2 separate regions of the Homo sapiens genome follow, and region 2 is linked to region 1. The links are contacts of gene promoters, found by promoter capture Hi-C in human tissues and cell types (Jung and others, 2019). All regions are on one chromosome and are shown on one strand. The core of a region is centred on a gene start or on the middle of the fragment in contact, and the rest is flanking DNA. Distances in the headings are between cores, read along the strand shown.

What was found. Contacts are between HindIII fragments. The study calls those that stand out against the background at their distance.
Region 2: a fragment that was not itself captured here is called in contact with the fragment with the promoter of TANC1 in region 1 in 1 of the 25 tissues and cell types used here (dorsolateral prefrontal cortex).

The regions. Positions count from the first base shown.
Region 1 is chr2:158,966,007-158,970,405 of GRCh38, forward strand. It overlaps TANC1 (tetratricopeptide repeat, ankyrin repeat and coiled-coil containing 1), which reads left to right and starts at 2,634. Exons shown (of 27, transcript NM_033394.3): 1 at 2,634-2,776. RefSeq lists silencers at 2,420-2,529, 2,590-2,669. The HindIII fragment of the contact is 16,038 bases long and covers 1-4,399 here.
Region 2 is chr2:159,723,499-159,728,364 of GRCh38, forward strand. All of the region lies in intron 3 of MARCHF7 (membrane associated ring-CH-type finger 7), which reads left to right. Among named protein-coding and RNA genes, the nearest start is that of MARCHF7, 13 kb to the left of the region's middle. The HindIII fragment of the contact is 4,142 bases long and covers 1,196-4,866 here.

The sequences.
Region 1 (4,399 bases), core at 1,384-3,883:
AGCATAGACTATTCACGTGATCTATATTTCTCTTTTTTTGTCCTAACTGGTATCAACAGAAATGTAATGAATGAGCTTCTTAAAGTAGATGGGATAAGCAGAGATATCCTCAGAAAAGCAAGAGATGATTCTTGCTTTCCTTTTCCTAAAAATTCAAACAAACCATTAACTAACAACTAACTAAAAACGCTTTTATTTTTTAAGGGAAAAGCAGATTTTAAAAAAATTAAAATTCATTTTTTAATATGTGCTCAGCTAATACTTCACTTATTAAGATATTTAGAAAATGTTCACATTTTTTTCTTACAAAACGGATCTTAATGGAAGCCCCCTGTTTGCCTCACCCATGAATTTTCATTTTTTTTTTTTTACTCTTTTTGGCCTTGTCTTTTATAAATGTACTATTTTCACCCACAGCTTAAGAGAGCTTCTTTGATGTTCTTAGTACAACATAGTGTATGTAATGTCAGCTGTTTAAAGCTGGAGATCAGATTGTGCATAATAACATATGTAGTTTGGATTATATAAACACTACAGGAAGAAGGGGAGACAGGGCCTTTCTGTGTGCACATTTCAGATTGCTAGCTGTATGCCTGTTTAGAATGTTAAATACTCCTAACTAGGCAGTGATGAAGTTACTTCTTTAGTGACTGTGACTTCTGAAACTATAAAGACAAAACTTTTTCAACTAAAAATAATTTAAAGATGATGTCAGTAATGAACATATTTATGTGATTTTCTACTTGCTACTTAAGGAGCTTTGAGAGTAGAGGGAAAAAAATTGCACTGCCTTCAAAGCCCTATTTAACTAAGCAATTTCATCAAAAATTTGGAAATACAGCTGAGAAGAGCCAAAACCAGAAAAATGTGGTACAAATGATAAATTTCATCCATTATACCTTTCTCCCATTATAAAGAAGTCTGGAGCAGGAAATCTTACCAGTCTATTTTCTTAGGATTGTTTCTCTTATATTTTAATATTTCAGATTAGTTAGACTGCTTGGAGTTTTTGTCTTTTGTTTGCATCATTCTTTTATCATTAAGGTTGCTGTCTGGCTTTTTTGTCTGTTGAAAGATTTCGTTTCAAGATAAATTAAATAAAACATTACCATATTTTTCAGCAATGAAACATTTCAGATGGAGAAAGAAGTCAATAGTTTTCTGGTTTAAGTTTGTATTTTTATTTTCAATATTCTATCCTGCCTTGTTTCGGGAATACTTCAAGGCCGCTGATGTGTTTACTGCTCAAATATCAACACAGCAGTAATCAGGCCTTTGAAACTATGGGTGAAAAATCCAGTCCATTTCAGTCTTTTTAATTTATGAAAAGAGATTGTGTGGCATTTTGCTTCCTGTCCCTTTTCATAAGAACTTTAAATATGGACACCCCTCCTGCTGGTGTCTTTATATAGGGAAGCTCTGCGTGAGGTTGAAGTTTTTATGAGGAAACTTGTTTAAAACACAATCGTATTTTAAGGCGGGTTTGCCACAGCAAGGTTAGGGGTTACCAATAAATCGGTTTACAGCAACTTCTCTATTCTCTGCTCCAGACACACCAATGGGGTGACCCGTGCACAATTCCCGCTGGCCACACAAGGCAGCGGCAGTTCTAGTTGATCCTTCCTTCGTCAACTAGATCAACGAAGGCTGTCTTAGAGAGCTTCGGGTATTAAGTGAGCAGAGTCCCTTAGGCCAATTTGGCTGCCTGGGATTCCTGGGAGGATCTTGGAGAACCCAGGACACCCGAATCCCTAGTCCCTATCCTGGTTTTTGCTCTGCTGGAGAATAACAAAACATTTTGGGAACTCAGGAGTTTAATTTACTGCCACCAACCGACAAAATAATAGCATCTTTGTGTGTTCTCTCCCCTCCGTCCCTCCCACCTCCTTCCGACAGAAGCACGACGCTGGCCCTCTGTGAATGTAGCGCAGACAGCACGGGCCAGCCCGGAGCGGTCGCAGGAGGCTCCAGACCCGCGGCCCCAGGGACGCCCGGGAAATCACCGGCCCCAGAACGTCCCCCATTCCTTTTGGGAAATAAAAAGACGCAGCCGGTGAGATGCCTTCTTAGACCTTCCAGCTCATTTAGCTGATTCTGGCCCCAGAAAGTGTGTTTGTGTTTGTGTGTAGTTAAGTGAGGCAGAGAAAATCCAAGAAAGCCGCACAAGCCACCCCAAAGCGTCCACGGAAACTCCAGCTCGGTTAATTGCTCCCATATGTCCTCCTCGGCTGTGGTAAAAAAGCAGCGAGGAGGGAAGGCCGGGTCGCTTTATTGATTTTGAAGAGGCTGTAAAAAAGACTATGGCCCATCTCATTTTGGTCCCAGAGGGGCCTAGGCGCAGCCCCGGGGGACCCGGTGCCCAGAGGGATGGTAGGGTGCTTCAGGCCCGGACCTGGCGCCGAGAGGCGGGACAAGGGGACCTCGCGCCCAAGCCCCGCGGAAAGTTCGCGCTCCGCGCTCCAGCCGGTCCCTGGATCCGCCGCAGCCCGGGGCGGGGAGGGGCGCGGGAGGCGCGGCCGGGGCGGGCGCGCGAGAGGAAGGTGCCTTCGGGAACACGCGCAAGGGCGGGGATTCGCGCTGCCAATGAGGCCCCGGTGTGGGCCGAGCAAGGCGGGGGGACGGGCCGGAGCGGAGGCTTTGCTGTGGCAGCTGCTGGAGCGGCGGCCGCCTCGGGAGCCGGAGGAGAGGCAGCCGCGGAGCGCCGAGCTGGCCTCGCCCCGAGGCCCGGCCCTGGGTGTGGGGAACCGCGCTGAGGAGCTGGAAACTTTCCCGGCAGGTAACTCCCGCAGCCCGGACTCCGCCGCGGGCCTGCGAGCGCCCCGGGCATGGCCAGCTGCCAGTGTGCGGAGAGGTCGAGAGGGACCCGGGGTGGAGAGGGTGATGGGAGAAGGGAAAGGCGTGTGGGAAAGTTTCTGGAGCGCCCCCTCCTCCGCCGGGCACACCCGGGAGCTTTCCGGGAATAGGCACAGACATGTTGGGCGCCCCGGGCCTTGGTCTCTCGGCGGCTTTGGGGAGTCCGCACCTTCCTTGCGCGGTTCCCCCGCGCCGGACCGAGCCGGCCTCCCCTGGAACCGGTGTGGTGGGAACCGGGAACGCTTGGGGCACGCTCGAGTTCTGGGACCACCCCCGCCCGGCGCGCCCGCTCGCCCCCTTTCCCGCCTTCTCTGTAGCCCTCGGGCTTGGCAAGGGCCTGGGCTACGCCTGGTACCTGGCGCGGGGGAGGCGGGGGGAGGCGCGCCTGGCACCGCGGGGTCCTGGGCGCCCCCCGGAGTGTTGGGGTGCGCGGGTCGCGAAGTTGCCGAGAGAACTTAAGCCGGAGGCATGGTATTGCCCCAGTCTGGGCTGAAAGTCTATTGCTTTGCTTCCAAGAACACTGCGATTAGCATATCCACACTCCTTTATTGGGGGTGGGGGTGAGTTAGGATTAGACGTTGGGGGTTTTTCTTTAGGGGTGGGGCGCTGAGAAGAGCGGTAATTGTCAAGATTGTGAGCCCCCTTGTTCTTGGATGCAGAGTGGTCATTTTCGGGGGACGATATCAGGGCACTGGCTTCCTGGAGGACTTTGGGGTGCGGGCGCGCAGCGCTGTGGGTGTGCGGGGCTCCCGGCTTTGGCGCGGCGGCTTTCCGGAACGCCTGGCTGGGAAGGAAGCTCTAGGCATTGTGTGGTGTGTTTGCAGACAGAAAGGTCCCTGGACCGGTGTTCTCAAAACTTACTGGACTTATTGTGTAAAGCTCCGGGAGGAAATGTGGCGTTGGCCAGGTAGAAACGCGGCGCTGCGGCCAAGGGGCGGAGGACGCCAGGCTCGGCAACGGCCTTCTCCCAGCCCCCTCCTGCCAGCTCCAGATCCGCGTGCCTCCAGTGTTGGGACCGTTCTCAGTGGCGTTGTTCCCTGCTGGAGTTAACTTGGGAGGTGAGGAGGGAACTTTCATCTTGAACTTGACCCCAGAAGCAGCGTCGTCCGTACAGGTTACAAGGTAAATGGAAGCTGAGTCTTAACGTGGGTTGGACCGCAAACTCTGGCTGGCGCGGAAAGGAAGTTCCTGGTTCAGAATCTTTGAGGAAAGGGCTCAAGATTGCTGAGATCGCTCGCTCTGGAAATGCCAGACACACCAGACTGCAGAAGTTAATGCGTGTTTGGAGGGGTGGGGGTGGGAGAGGAAAGGAGAAACCTGGTTAGTTGGCACAGAGGGCTGGTATTTCTCTGTAGTGGAAATGAAGGGAGTCTGCGTCTCTGCTTTCACCAGATCCGCTACCCTCTTTTTTCCTTCCTTGGTCATCTTTATTCCTGCCAGGCTGGCACTCCTGAGGCAGGGGAGGGGAAGGAGAGGAAAGCAGTTGTGAAGCTTCCTGGGTCAGCCTGGAGGTATTTCAGATCTGCTACTAGGAAGATTCCAGGAT
Region 2 (4,866 bases), core at 2,017-4,516, 760 kb after region 1:
CCCCATCTCTAGTCCCACTTTGCAAAGGCAGTGCCCCTCTGCTATTTAGCTATTTCTTTTAGGACTTACATACTTTCATTTTTCTAAACAGTGTGCTTATACTGTTATTTCATGGTTTTTCATTGTTTCCTACCATTCTTATTTCCACTGCCCACTTCCATCTCACAATATGTAGCAAATTGATTCAGTAGTCTATATTTACATTATTAAGACTATGTAAATATTAAAGAGCTCACCTAATAACAATCATGCCTTTCATGAACAGCTAAGTTTTTCCAAGTTAAAAAATTAATTTTTAAAATTGCCTTTTCTTCTATATACACAGTTTTTTCAAGTTGTACCACCATCTCTACCACATGCCAATGAGATGTAGTTTCCATGTGATGCTTTTTCTTTTCTTACAACTTCTGCTACCTGAGGTCCTGCTCCAGTCCGAATTGTTTGCTTGCCATGCTTTCTGCATAGCATCCCCCTTAAGTTCCCCTTTATCGCTGCTTCCTGGGTTTCATATCTTGTTATTTCCTGCCTCACACTCCCATTTTTCTAGGACACGCTGTTCATTTAGCTTCCTCTGGTAGTGTTTTTGGTCGTTGTGTTTTGTTGAGACCTTGCATGTCTGAAAACATGTTCTGTTCTCCACTTCAAATGTACTTGCTAGATTGGAATTCAAGGCTAAACATTTTTCTCAGTATTATAAGCATTATTTCATTGTCTTAAGACTTTATTGTTGCTGTTAAGCTGTTCTGATTACGTTCTCTTTGTATGTGACCCATTTTTTCCACTCTAGTAACTTATAGGATCTTCCCATTACTTCTGGTTTTCTGCAGTTTCAAGATGGTATATTGTGCTTAGTGTTGGTCTTTTTTCTTTGATGCTCTTATGTAGTCTTGAGCCCTTTCAATTTGGAGAGTTCTGTCCTTCGTTTCTAGAAAAGTTTATTTGGTAATTTTCTCTATATTTTTCTGTAACCACAGTCAAATTATAACTCTCTAGATAATTATTTTCATGTTACATTTGCTATTTCTTTTGGTTCTGCTTTCCAGGAGGTTTCTGCAACTTACTCCCAGTCCTTATGTTGAATTTATTTCAGTATATCTCATTTTAACAAGTATATGGCATTTTGAATTTCCATAAGCTCTTTATAATGCTGTCTTTGTATTCTCACACATCCTGTTCTTATTTTATGAATGAATTTTTTTTATACTTTAAGTTCTAGGGTACACGTGCACAACATGCAGATTTGTTACATATGTATACATGTGCCATGTTGGTGTGCTGCACCCATTAACTCGTCATTTGCAATAGATATTTCTCTTAATGCCATCCTTCCCCCTCCCCCTACCCTAAAACAGGCCCCAGTGTGTGATGTTCCCTGCCCTGTGTCCAAGTGTTCTCACTGTTCAGTTCCCACCCATGAGTGAGAACATGCCATGTTTGGTTTTCTGTCCTTGGCGATAGTTTGCTGAGAATGATGGTTTCCAGCTTCATCTATGTCCCTACAAAGGACATGAACTCATCCTTTTTTATGGCTGCATAGTATTCCATGGTGTATATGTGCCACGTTTGCTTTATCCAGTCTATCATTGATGGGCATTTGGGTTGATTCCAAGTCTTTGCTATTGTGAGTAGTGCCACAGTAAACATACTTGTGCATGTGTCTTTATAGTAGCATGATTTATAATCCTTTGGGTATATACCCAGTAATGGGATGGCTGGGTCAAATGGTATTTCTAGTTCTAGATCCTTGAGGAATCGCCACACTGTCTTCCAGGATGGTTAAACTAGTTTACAGTCCCACCAACAATGTAAAAGTGTTCCTAATTCTCCACATCCTCTCCAGCACCTGTTGTTTCCTGACTTTTTAATGATTGCCATTCTAACTGGTGTGAGATGGTGTCTCGTTGTGGTTTTGATTTGCATTTCTCTGATGACCAGTGATGATGAGCATTTTTTCATGTGTCTGTTGGCTGCATAAATGTCTTCTTTTGAGAAGTGTCTGTTCATATCCTTCGCCCACTTTTTTATAGGGTTGTTTGATTTTTTCTTACGAATTTAAGTTCTTTGTAGATTCTGGATATTAGCTCTTTGTCAGATGGGTAGATTGCAAAAATTTTCTCCCAATGAATGAATGTTATTTGATCCCTGTGAGGATAGAAATAAGCCCCTTTCCCCCAAATTTTCCTCTCCCTGCAACATCTTAAAGTTTTGTTTTTATTGTTGTTTACTTTGGTCCTTCTTTCATATTGGAGGCCTTCCTTGATTACATGGTAGTCCTTGATGTTTGTCAGTTAGAGGGAAGCATTAAAAATTCTGATGAGAAACTCCTGGTGACTAGCAGCCTTTGTTGTAGGATAGAATGGTCTAGTGGAAGGCTAACCTTTAAAGTGGAAACATTTCAGATGACATTCAGAAATCTTATCACGGGTGTTTGGTGATCCAAGAGTAGAATCCCTTAGTCTCCTGACAGCATTGTAGAAACATGACCACAAAAGAGTCTGTGGGTCTCAATACTGAGTATATAAATTTTCTTTTATTCCTTATACTGACCCCATGCCTAAACTCCTGCGGAGATTATTGCATGTCGTGTGTGGGAGATGGGGGGTGGTAGGGACACAAGAGTGTTACCTAGGAAAGATTTATTTGCCAGAGAATAAATATCCTACCTTTAGGGGAATGGAACTGGGGAAGAATCTGAAGCTCTACTACTGCTCCAGATACAGGTTTTGTTTTGTTTTGTTTTGTTTTGTTTTGTTTTGTTTTGTTTTGTTTTGTTTTGTTTTTTGATACCGAGTCTCGCTCTTGCACCCAGGCCAGAGTGCAGTGGCACGATCTCTGCTCACTGCAAGCTCCGCCTCCCGGGTTCACGCCATTCTCCTGCGTCAGCCCCCTAAGTAGCTGGGACTACAGGCGCCCGCTACCACGGCCGGCTAATTTTTTGTAATTTTAGTGGAGACGGGGTTTCACTGTGTTAGCCAGGATGGTCTTGATCTCCTGACCTTGTGATCCGCCTGCCTCAGCCTCCCAAAGTGCTGGGATTACAGGCATGAGCCACCGCCCCCGGCCAGATACAGGTTTTAATTTAACAACTTGCTTTCCAGCCACATGCACCATTACCCCCAACCTGTTGTTATTTTTTTGTGATAAAATACAGAGAACATAAAATTTTACCATCTTAACCATGTTTGTGTACAATTCAGTATTATTGGATATATTCATAATGTTGTGCAAACATCACTATCATCTATCTCCATAATTCTTTTCATCTTGTAAAACCAAAATTTCATACTCATTAAACAACTCCCCATCCCCTGCCAACCACCAATCTTCTTTCTCTATGATTTGACTATAATTATTTTTAATGTATCTTTTCTCTGTTTAGTTATATAAATACTTACCATTGAATTACATTTGTCTACAGTATTCAGTACAGGAACATGCTGTAAAGATTTGCTGCCTAGAAACAATAGGTTATACTATATAATCCAGGTATTAGACTATACCATCTAGGTTTGTGTATGTACACTATTATTTTTGCACAGTGAAGAAATCACCTAAAGACGCATTTCTTAGAATATATTCCTGTTCTTGAGTGATGCATAACTATGCATACAATACAATAATATTCAGCCTTAAAAAAGGAAGGAAATTCTGGCATATGGTACAATATAGATGAACTTTGAGAACATTAGGGTAAGGGAAATAAATTTGCCAATCACGAAAAGACAAATATTGTATGATTCCACTTATATGAGATACAGTCAGAGGCCTTGTAAATCCTTGCCTCAGAATATTTTAAAAGCTTTTTAAGGCTGGGCACGGTGGCTCATGCCTGTAATCCCAGCACTTTGGGAGGCCGAGGCGGGCAGATCACGAAGTCAGGAGATCGAGACCATCCTGGTTAACATGGTGAAACCCCGTCTCTACTAAAAATACAAAAAAATTAGCTGGGCGTGGTGGCGGGAGCCTGTAGTCCCAGCTCCTTGGGAGGCTGAGGCGGGACAATGGCGTGAACCCAGGAGGTGGAGCTTCCAGTGAGCCGAGATCGTGCCACTTCACTCTAGCCTGGGCAACAGAGTGAGACTCCGTCTCAGAAAAAAAAAGCTTTTTAAATTATAGTAGTAACGTGCTTATAGTAGCACTGTTACAACTCCCAAGTGGAAACAATCTAGCGTACATTCATGGTAGAATGGGAAAATAAATTGTGTGCCATATGGTGGAATGCTATGTAAAGAAATTAGAGTGAACTGAAGACTGCATGCAACAACACAGATGAATCTCACAAATATAGTGTTGAGCAAATGAAGTTGGACACAAAAGAGTACTTATTGTATGATTCCGTTTATACGTATTTAATAATCAGGCATAGGTAATCATTACTTTCGTCGTGGGTTTAGAAATGTTTAGTGAGGAAAACTTGGAAATTATTAATCTATAAAGTGGAAAGCACTCAGTTCCACAAAATAACATTTTGTTTTTTTCTTAGAAGTTTTATTCATTTTATTTGCATAAATAGAATCATACTGTATGTGTAGTTTTATAGATTGACCTTTTTACTTAAAATGTTACTTTCCAATAGTACCATAAACAATCTTTGAAAACATTTTGAGAAACACTTTATTAGCTGTGTGATCATGTGCAAATTGCTTAACCTCTCAGTGCCTGTTTTCTTATTTATAAAGTGGAGATAATATAGTACCTGTCTCACAGGGTTGGTCTGGAGAGTCAGTGAACTAACAGATAATCAGAAGGTCTTTACTGTCAGACCTTGCATATAATACTTAATAAATATCAGCTATTGCTATTATTTTTGTTATAATTAAGAGATCCTATGAGTGGTAAATAAAAAGAAAGTTCATTCATTCTTAC